3 separate regions of the Homo sapiens genome follow, and regions 1 and 2 are each linked to region 3. The links are contacts of gene promoters, found by promoter capture Hi-C in human tissues and cell types (Jung and others, 2019). All regions are on one chromosome and are shown on one strand. Each heading gives the region's core, a stretch centred on a gene start or on the middle of the fragment in contact. The rest is flanking DNA. Distances are from core to core; before and after follow the strand shown. Region 1 has its middle 7.0 kb from the start of SPON1. Region 2 overlaps LINC02683 (long intergenic non-protein coding RNA 2683). Region 3 holds the start of RRAS2 (RAS related 2).

Region 1 (3,029 bases), core at 29-2,528, 400 kb after region 3:
TCTTTAACCCCCAACCTACAGCAAATCAACCAAGCAAAACAATGGAACCCTCCCCGACTTCTGAGTTCTGCTGCACAAAACCTGGTAACCCTGCCAATTACTTTACTACAAATGCATGAATTCTACCTTTAAGTATAGTTCTTAAATTTATTCCTAATCAGTTTCTTTTCCTATTCATCTAGTCCTTACCATCTTTTCAAGCCTGCTTCATCACTCTTTAATTCTCACTCTTTGGTATGGAGAGGGGTGGTTACTTGCCCTCTTATTTTATCCCTCACATGGGGGACATTAGGCATGAACTTCTTCAAATCTCCATATCTCCTTCCACAAACCAAACTCTGGCAAAATCCAAGTTCACTTCTTGCCTCAAATGCAGAAGGGTTTAACTCTTCAATTTTTTCAAGGCTAATCCCCTACTTGCATTCTTGTCCTCATTTCCTGACTTCTGCCAAACACTGATCTAGCTCTTATCCTCTCTCCCTCTTGTATTTCTGTTTCTGTTTCTGTCCATGTCCTTGGCCTGCGGCTCTAGCTAAGTCTTCCCCATCCTGGGCGGGGAATTGGACTAGGGATTCAGGTAGTGCTAGTCAAGAGACTGGACTTTTTACTGACCTTGTCTCACTCTCTGTGTCCTCTGTTGTAACTCTGTTTCCTCAGTTTTCACTCATTTTTTTTTTCATGTGGTGTAGCTTGGAATCAGCTCATATCTCTTTACGGAAAGTGTTCTAACAGAGATCACCTAAGACCTCCTAATTGCCATAGACGTTGTCTGAATTAAAAACAGCGGAATAGAAGCTCACCACTGAGAGCAGTTAAAAAGAATTGCACAGCAGGAGGTCTTCCAAGGTATAGATCTGCTCCCAACCTGGAGATCTCTAAGTCTCCTTGCTTTTAGGTTTACGGATTAAAGAGAGCACTGTGTCTAAATGCAGCACAGCATGCCAGGTGCAGCTGTGGGCAGCTCCCAAGAGCAAACCCTTGCAAGTCCAGCCACACATAGAACCCAGACGCAGTCTACATTCCCCTTGTGGTTCTCTTGCTATTAATCTAGCAACCCGACCCAAGCAGAACCACTTTTTTGAAGTTCTGGGAACTTCATGGCTTGGACCACATGACCATGGCACACTACTGCCACCTGGTGACAGTGAACTGAACATGCAGCAGTATTAAGTAAAAACTCCTAAGCACCCCGGCACTCCTTGAACCTATTTTAAACTGGAATGTTTGGGCCCATTTTAGACTAGATTGTTTGCTCTTTGAGAATAGACTCATTGAGTTTTACACTATTTTAGAATAATATGTCTGCATAAAGCAGGTGTTTAGTGAATTTTTGTGAAATTTAAGCCTTTCATTCATTCAGCAAACATGTATTGGAGGAGGTAATCCAAAGAAAAACAAGACATAATTCCTGCCTTCAAGAAGCCGCAGAGATGGATAAAGCAGATATTTGTAAAACAAAGAATTATGTGTACTAAGTATTAAAGGGGGCACAGAGAAGGGAGTAACTAATTCTGCCCAGGTAAAGTAACACTTGAAAAGGTACTCAACACCTTCTCGAAAGACAGATCAGAACTTGTCAACTGGACACGGGGATGGAGAATATAGGAGGGGAGGAGAGCTAATGCAAAAGCTTAGAGATGAGAGAAGGCAGAGTGTGTCCTTCGGGTAGCAGAGTGACCTTTTCAGTGGCATTGTATGAAGATGGATTGTCCAGTGAGAGTGTAGGGGGGGTGACACATGTTAAGAGGCTTTAACAACAGTCCAGAGGAGAGCTGCGAGCTAAGGCTAGGAGGAAGGGATGAATTGGAGGGCTGTTCAGGAAGCAGACTAAAGAGGATGGAACGCCTGGTGATATGCAGGAAGGGAGACGGGAGTGGCTCTGAGAGTTCTCATAAGGGCCACTGGGTTGTATATCTACCACCTCAGTGGTATATTTTTCCAAGACAACAAATTCAAGAAGAGAACCCACGGGACATGTGGGAATGAGGAATGTGTGAGATGATATATATTCCATTGTGGACACTTGACATTTAAGGGGTCTTTCAGAGGGGGATGTACAGTGGACTGTCAAAGACAATAGGTTTCTATCTCAGAAGGGAGTGAGCACTGGAGACAGAGACCTGGGAGTTGGTATTGTGCCCCAACACTCCCTTTAAGATACTCTCAAAGCTTAGCTGTCTTATGTTACTTCTCAGCTTTGTGCTCTGATTTCCAAACCAATAGACCGATTTGATAGATGTAATTTTGCTAGCATGCTAATGGGAAAATAGTAATCTTGAGTTCCCTACCTGGTTCACAAGGTGACACAGGAGGATGTTTACAATGGCATCCCAGGGTAAACAAAAGATGTAGGACTCTAGCCTCTGTAACCTAGAAGGTACTCATGGTTCTGGAGAGCTTCCCAAGCTTGTTGGCTGATCGCTCCTTTGCTCATGCATAAAGCTGGAACTGGAGGAAGGCACTGAGGGCGGAGAGTAGAGGAGAAAATAGACCTACATCCTTTCTGCCTGACAAGAAGAGAAAGAGACAGAAGGGAGGGAAGGAGACAAAGCAAACAGAACTGGAAATAGGGAAGAAGACAGAAATGACCAGAAAGCATATTTAGTGCATAAAGAAATACATAAGAGTGTCTGAGAAACAACAGAGGAAATGAGGCTCCCGTCCTCCTATTACCATAATGAAGTATCCATGTGAGGCAATAAAAAGGCTCTTTTTATGCCTTCCAATTAACTAGGGCTCAAGTTTTGCACGTCTCTCAGCTGGAAAATATAATTGCTGAAGTGTCAGGTTTACCAATTGGGTTGTGGCTTTAAATAAAGTGCCATCCAATTGTTATTTCACATATACAACCCAAAGAGCTGGCACCTGGAGGGAAAGGAAAAACAAAACCTCCAGAACATAATTCAGGCCCAAAACTCATTTCTCTGAGAAAAACTTGAGCCCAGCTTGTTGGTATGAACATTAAGAGGGAATAAGAATAAAAGACATTTATTCACTCATCAGATAGCGGTGACACTGACAATGCTGAG
Region 2 (2,906 bases), core at 7-2,506, 440 kb after region 3:
CTCTTTAGATAAAGATAAATTTGGAAAATTGCAAAACTCTCCAGAGACAATACCTTCCTAATGATTTCTGCCTTCTTTGACACCTCATTGCACTGATTAATGGTCATTCAAATTGATCACCTGGCATAGCTCACTGTCAAAATAAAAAAGGACATATTTTAAAAAGTCAGGTGCTGTCTTGTGTGGTAGAATCCTGGTGTGTGTGTGTGTGTGTGTGTGTGTGTGTGTGTGTGCGCGCACACACACAGGCTTATAACAATGACAAACAGACGCAGCTTCTGAATCCTAAAATTTACTGGTGGCCCCCACTCTACGTGTATGTTCCTTAGTACTATAATTCTTAGGACTTTAAATAATTAGTCTCCACAATTTGCTCTCATATTAGCCAAAATTGTTAGGGTAAGGCTGGCCAAATATTTTAAGCCACATAAAAGTGGATAATTGTTTTTCTAGAGTCCTTTGTTATAGTCTACCCCGAGAGGTTAAAAAAAAGAAAATTAGGTGGCAACAGAAGCAGCCTCTTTTATAACATCGTTACAAGCTATGAGCAAAGAAAAGAAACCTACTTTGGATGCCAAGTCTCAATATGGATTCCATCACTCCCCCTAAATTCTTTTTATCTGGCTCTGATGGGGTTTACAATTGAGCCCGCACACAACTCATATATGACAACACCACTCATAGTTCTATAGCAGAGTTAGGAAATATTTGAATGTGAGAAACAGAAACCCACTCAAAATGACACAACCCCAGAAGGAAAGCTCAATGGAAGCAGATAGTGAATGTCTCTCAGATCCCAAGGGCTTTATAGAGAGCCAACATCCATTAAAGCCAGGAACCAAGGGTAAGGGGCTGCACAATCCCTCAACTCTCCCCATCCGTAGTCCAGCTCCAGCAGGTCCAGGAGCAGAGCCCAAGCTTCTGCTCCACCTGACTTCCAAGTTCTAGCATCTCAGATGGACTAAGTATCTCAGTCTCTAGTTTTAAGTCCGACAGGGAGAGAGAGAGGAGAGAGAGAGAGAGAGAATTGAATTGGTCACCAGACTGGATCCTCTTGGGTCACAAATCTCAGAATTTTGAGTGGGGCAGTTTTAGGTAGAGTGGCATCTCAGCAACATTGATTAATATCTATTTAACAAGCAAGATCTCTGGTCAAGAGAGGCTCTGTGGTATTCCCACTTTGGAAACTTACTTCAGGGGGAAAGAGTACCAGGATCTATATGAAGAGGGCCAGGCATTTCACAAAGGGCCATTGAGAGGGGTATTACATGAGAACACATGGGAGAGAAGGTGTTGGGACCTGAAATTAGAAAAGAAACTGCAACAAAGACTGTAGAGAGCAATTCTAACCTTGGGATGAAGGTAAGTACAGAACTATGAGGGCTGATGTGGGACCCTGAAAAATGGGAACTGACCAGATTAAGGTCACAGACCAGGAGGACAGGTTTTGGGGGAGGAGTAAGGATTCAGTCAAATGGCTAACTATATCATCATCTCAGCAAGAAATATATATCGTCTCACTTAATCCTTACAACAAATCTCCCACTTAGCTAAAGGTAACAGTGTGGTGATTACTCACCCTGCCTCTGGTGTCTGAATGCCTGGGTTCAAATTCTAGCCCTGCCATTTCCTAGCTCTGTAACTTTGGGCCACGAATTTTTCTCTTCATGCCTAAAATCCTCCTCTGCAAAATCTCAGCAAAGGATTAACAGTAGCTCAGCTGCCAAGTATGGGGTTAAACAAGATGGGGAGGGAAAGAGAGAACTAACTTTTGCTGAGTACTCTATTAGGATCCAAAGCATATGCACATGTTTTTACATCCCAGTACATTCTCAAACCCTGAGATAAACTATGAAATCTTAGGGGGATCACTCTGCCTTCATTCTTCCCAACTCTTTCAATTATTTTCATTGTCTATTCTGCAGCTCATGTGAATATTCTAATAGCATAAAACTGATCTCGCCTCTGCGTTATTAGGTTTGGTGGTTTCTCATCATCTACAAGATCAAATCCTTACACTTTAGTTAGGCACATATTATGCTTCCCAAACAGCCTCAACCTACTTCATAGCCTCTTCCTCACCCCCTCCACCCTGTCTTTTCTCAATGATTTTGCTCTTCCATACCTCTATTTGTTCAGTTTGTATGTTTTTGAACATACATTTGTCTTTGTCTTAATTGCCCACTTTCCCGTCTTTCCTCCCCAATTTGCAAAAGTTTATTGATCATTCAAGATCAAGGTCAAATACCTCTTTCAAATTCAAAATCTAGGTCAAATGTCCATGACTTCTTGGGGCTGTTAATTGCCCCCTCCTAATACTCCAAACGTATCTCCATTATAGCACTTTATCACATTCTATTAATTCATCCTTCTATCTGGCTCTTTCTCATTGCACACAAGGATCTAGAGGGCAGACCTTGGGGCTTCTTCCTCCCTACATCTCCAAGGTCTCCCACAGTTCCTGGTCTAGGGTAGGCTTGTAATCAGTGCTTGTTGAATGAATGTGATCCCTGAAGCTTTCACACTCACGGTTGGTCTTAACTGGTATTTTGCAAGAATTATATTCCACCCCCTAGTTGAGGCATGCTCATGTTTAGACACAGAAGAAGAAAATATGGAATATTGTTGCTGTGGAAACTAACTTGGAAAATGACTTTCTTTTCTCCTTTATATAAATGTACAAGTCATATCTCATGGCTAAGTGGTCTATGAGTACTTACATAATGACACTGAAAGCCTCAAGCCTGCTCCCAAGGCGTTCTGTGGCAGTCAGCAATGCAGACCATGGAACACGTTCCCTGTGCCATTCTAGCATATAATCTTTCTCACTTTGATGCCCAGTTGCTGGGTTAAATATTGTTTTCAGTCTATCCTACAATAAAATTATTGCACTTCAGTGGATTTCT
Region 3 (3,271 bases), core at 337-2,836:
TTGTATTTTTAGTAGAGATGCGTTTAGCCATGTTGGCCAGGTTGGTCTGGAACTCCTGGGCTCAAGCGATCCGCCCGCCTTGGCCTTCCAAAGTGCTGGGATTACAGGCATGAGCCATTGCGCCCAGCCATCCCAGCACTTTGGGAGTTCGAGACTAGCCTGGGTAACATAGAGAGACCTTGTCTCTTAAAAAAAAAAAAATTACCTGATCTTGATGGCATGTGCCTGTAGTCCCAGCTGCTAGGGAGGCTGAGGTGGAAGGATCACTTGAGTCCAGAAGTTGGAGGTTGCAGTGGGCCATGATTGTGCCACTACACTTCAGCCTGGGTGACAGAGGGATCTTGTCTCAAAAAAGAAAAAAAAAAGATTTTTAAAAAAGGAATTCAGGATGGGCTGGCCTGGATGGGTATTTTTGCTTGGGGTCTCTCACGCAGTTGCATTCAGATGCTAACAGGGGATGCCGTCATTGGAAGGCTCGATTAGGCTGAGTGTCCAAGATGTCTCACTTAGATGGCTGGCAGGTGATGCTGGTGATCTGGTGGGAGCTCAGTGGGACTTTTTTTTTTTTTTTTTAAATGGCATGTTGCTCCTGGCCATCAATCAGACTTCGACTGGCATGCCTACATGTAGCCTCTTTAGCATGGCAGTCTTATGATAGTCAAACTTCTGACTTTGTTCCTCCCGGAGTGAGAATACCAAGAGAACAGCTGCATGGCCTCTTCTGATCTAGCCTGGGAAATTAGGCAGCATCTCTTCTGCTGCATTCTACTGGTTCCAAATGAGTTACCAAGTGAAGTCCAAGAACTTGCAGTCATGTTCCAAGATTGCTGTAAATGCTTCCTGTGTAGCAGCACTGTTTTATGTGCTCATTTAATTCTTATTAAAAACCCCATGAGGCCGGGTGCAGTGACTCACACCTGTAATTCCAGCACTTTGGGAGGCCGAGGCGGGAGGATTGCTTGAGGCCAGGAGTTCAACCCCTCGCACTCACACTCCTCATATCCAATTACTGCACATTTGTCACACATAAACATAGCCACTATGACACTGTACTGACACATACAAAATCTGTCACATTCCGTCTTGCCCATGCAAGCTCAATCACTGACTTATTCTCCATGCTCAGCCACTGTCCCATTCTTCACACTGTCACAACCACCAGCCCATCACACACTCAATTACTGTGACACAGCTCTAATCCTCAATCACTGTCACATACTGTTTTTCACACAAATATGGTCACCATCTGTACTCTTAAAGCAGGGTATGTACTCTCCTATAAAATTGAGTTAATATGCCAACAGCCCTATTTTTCGCACACGCCGTCACATATTGTATTTTTCATCCACACAATCCCTTACATAGACAATTAGGGTGACACACTCTTTCTGCCTTCGTCCCACTCCCAACTGACACCCACTCCCACACTCTCACGCACTCGCTCACTGGCTAGGGATTAGAGCGGTGTGTCCGTGGGGGTCTGAAGCCCGGGTTACCTCCCGAACCTCAGCCCCAAGCGGCGCGGCCCCGCCCCTCCCCGCCCCCTCATGCATATGCAGCACCTCAGCCTGGCAGCCCGGCCCCCAGACGGCCATTTGTGGCGGCGCTGGAGGCTGCGTTCGGCAGGCGCTGCGGAGACGCGTAGAGGAGCGCGCCCCCCGGCCGCTGCCGCCCCTGGCCCGTGCCGTCACCCCGCTTCTCCGCGCCTCGGGCGGTACCCAGCCAGTCCCCAGCGCCGCGCTACCGCGCTGACCGGCCCTCCAGACGCCTCCCGGTACCCGGGACCCCAGCCCGGCCGCTCGCCCGCAGCCCGCCGGCCGCACACGTCCCCGGAGCCGGGCCTAGGGCGGGCGGCAGCGGCGGCTCGGCGCAGTCAGGCTGGGCTCTGTAGCGTCCCCATGGCCGCGGCCGGCTGGCGGGACGGCTCCGGCCAGGAGAAGTACCGGCTCGTGGTGGTCGGCGGGGGCGGCGTGGGCAAGTCGGCGCTCACCATCCAGTTCATCCAGGTACCTGGAGCGGGCCTGCCCGGGGCGCCGGAGCGGCGGCGGGCGGGGGCTGGCGCTACCTGTGGCGGGGCGGCCGCCGCGACCTCGCCCCAGAGGCGCCTCGCGGGCCCGGGCCGGGGCCAGGGGGCGGGAGGGCGCGGGGCCGACTACGCTCCTGCCCTGCGGCCGCAGCGTCGCGCTCCTGCCTCCTCCCGGGCGCGGCGTCGCGGGAGTAGGGCTTCTCAGGAATGTGGTCGGGAGGGCGGAGCTGGAAGGGTGGGAAGCACCGATCCACCTTATTGCTCTGGCCGAGGCCAGAGACCTCCGGGAGAGGCTGGGCCACCGAGCCGGGCTTTACTGCTCCGAGGGTCCGGGCGTGGGGCTGGAGCTGGAGCCCCGCGCGCTGCTTTTCCAGCCGCCTGCGGCCGCGCCTTCACCGTCGGGGCGATAGCGGTGGCAACTTGGCCGCGGCTCCGCGTGGTCTCCGGGCTTCCCCGCGCCGCCTGAGCCGGAGCTGCCCGCTTCAAGTACTGTGTATTTCTTTGTGTGTGTGTTACGCTCTTTTTATAAGTACTCTCTTAGGTAATATGTCCGGGTGGGAGTGTGTGATAATGCCCCGGGGAAATGGTGGCTTCTAGGAAGTTAAAAATGTTCTCTGATGGGGTGAGACCATTTCCTAGGAATTCCTGATGCCGTCCTGCTTCTCGCCGTGCCTAGGTGAAGTTTGGGATGGGCCGGGCTAGGATATGACCGAGTCGTGCGTTCTGTTTTCTAACCACCCTCTCCCCTACCCCCAGCCCTCTCTGGTTGCTAGAGACGGTAAGTCAGGGGTTTGTGGTAAAGAAAAGGGAGGTGGTATTCTTCCTTCTTAGAATTTGCTCTTGGGGAGAGGTTTGAGTAGTCTTTTTTGGGATTTTTAAAACACAAAGCCCCGATGTCTTTCTGCTTTTGTCAACCTAAAAGGTGTGGCATATGCTGGGAGAGAACGAAGGTACCCTGTTATAACAGGAAACAAGGATATTTTTCACAGTATCTAGAGTATGAACGGTGAAATATTTTTGTCTGGTTTCCTTTTCACCCATTTGTCATTAATTGGGATACCTGAATAGCTTATTTCACTTAGTGTTTATAGTGACATTAAAATATTGAGTACTGTAACAAATGTGATTGTCACCTTTCACATTGAGTAAATGAGCAATAATTGCTGCTATAATATTCCCTGGATTACTGCTGCTAAAACCTTTGAATCCAGGAAGAAAGGATGTTTTATGTAATGAGCATTTACA

Evidence for each region. The method cuts DNA at HindIII sites, captures the fragments that hold promoters and counts their contacts. A contact is called where the count stands out against the background at its distance.
Region 1: a contact is called between a fragment that was not itself captured here and the fragment with the promoter of RRAS2 in region 3, in 1 of the 25 tissues and cell types used here (hippocampus).
Region 2: a fragment that was not itself captured here is called in contact with the fragment with the promoter of RRAS2 in region 3 in 2 of the 25 tissues and cell types used here (mesendoderm cells and spleen).

The regions. Positions count from the first base shown.
Region 1 is chr11:13,954,172-13,957,200 of GRCh38, reverse strand. No RefSeq gene overlaps it. Among named protein-coding and RNA genes, the nearest start is that of SPON1, 7.0 kb to the left of the region's middle. The HindIII fragment of the contact is 4,411 bases long and covers 1-3,029 here.
Region 2 is chr11:13,918,710-13,921,615 of GRCh38, reverse strand. It overlaps LINC02683 (long intergenic non-protein coding RNA 2683), which reads left to right. Exons shown (of 2, transcript NR_135052.1): 2 at 1-169. Among named protein-coding and RNA genes, the nearest start is that of LINC02683, 4.7 kb to the left of the region's middle. The HindIII fragment of the contact is 6,050 bases long and covers 1-2,906 here.
Region 3 is chr11:14,357,498-14,360,768 of GRCh38, reverse strand. RRAS2 (RAS related 2) reads left to right here and starts at 1,586. Exons shown (of 6, transcript NM_012250.6): 1 at 1,586-2,006. The coding sequence starts at 1,899. RefSeq lists silencers at 1,487-1,986, 2,057-2,256, 2,297-2,416 and an enhancer at 2,657-2,756. The HindIII fragment of the contact is 8,284 bases long and covers 1-2,709 here.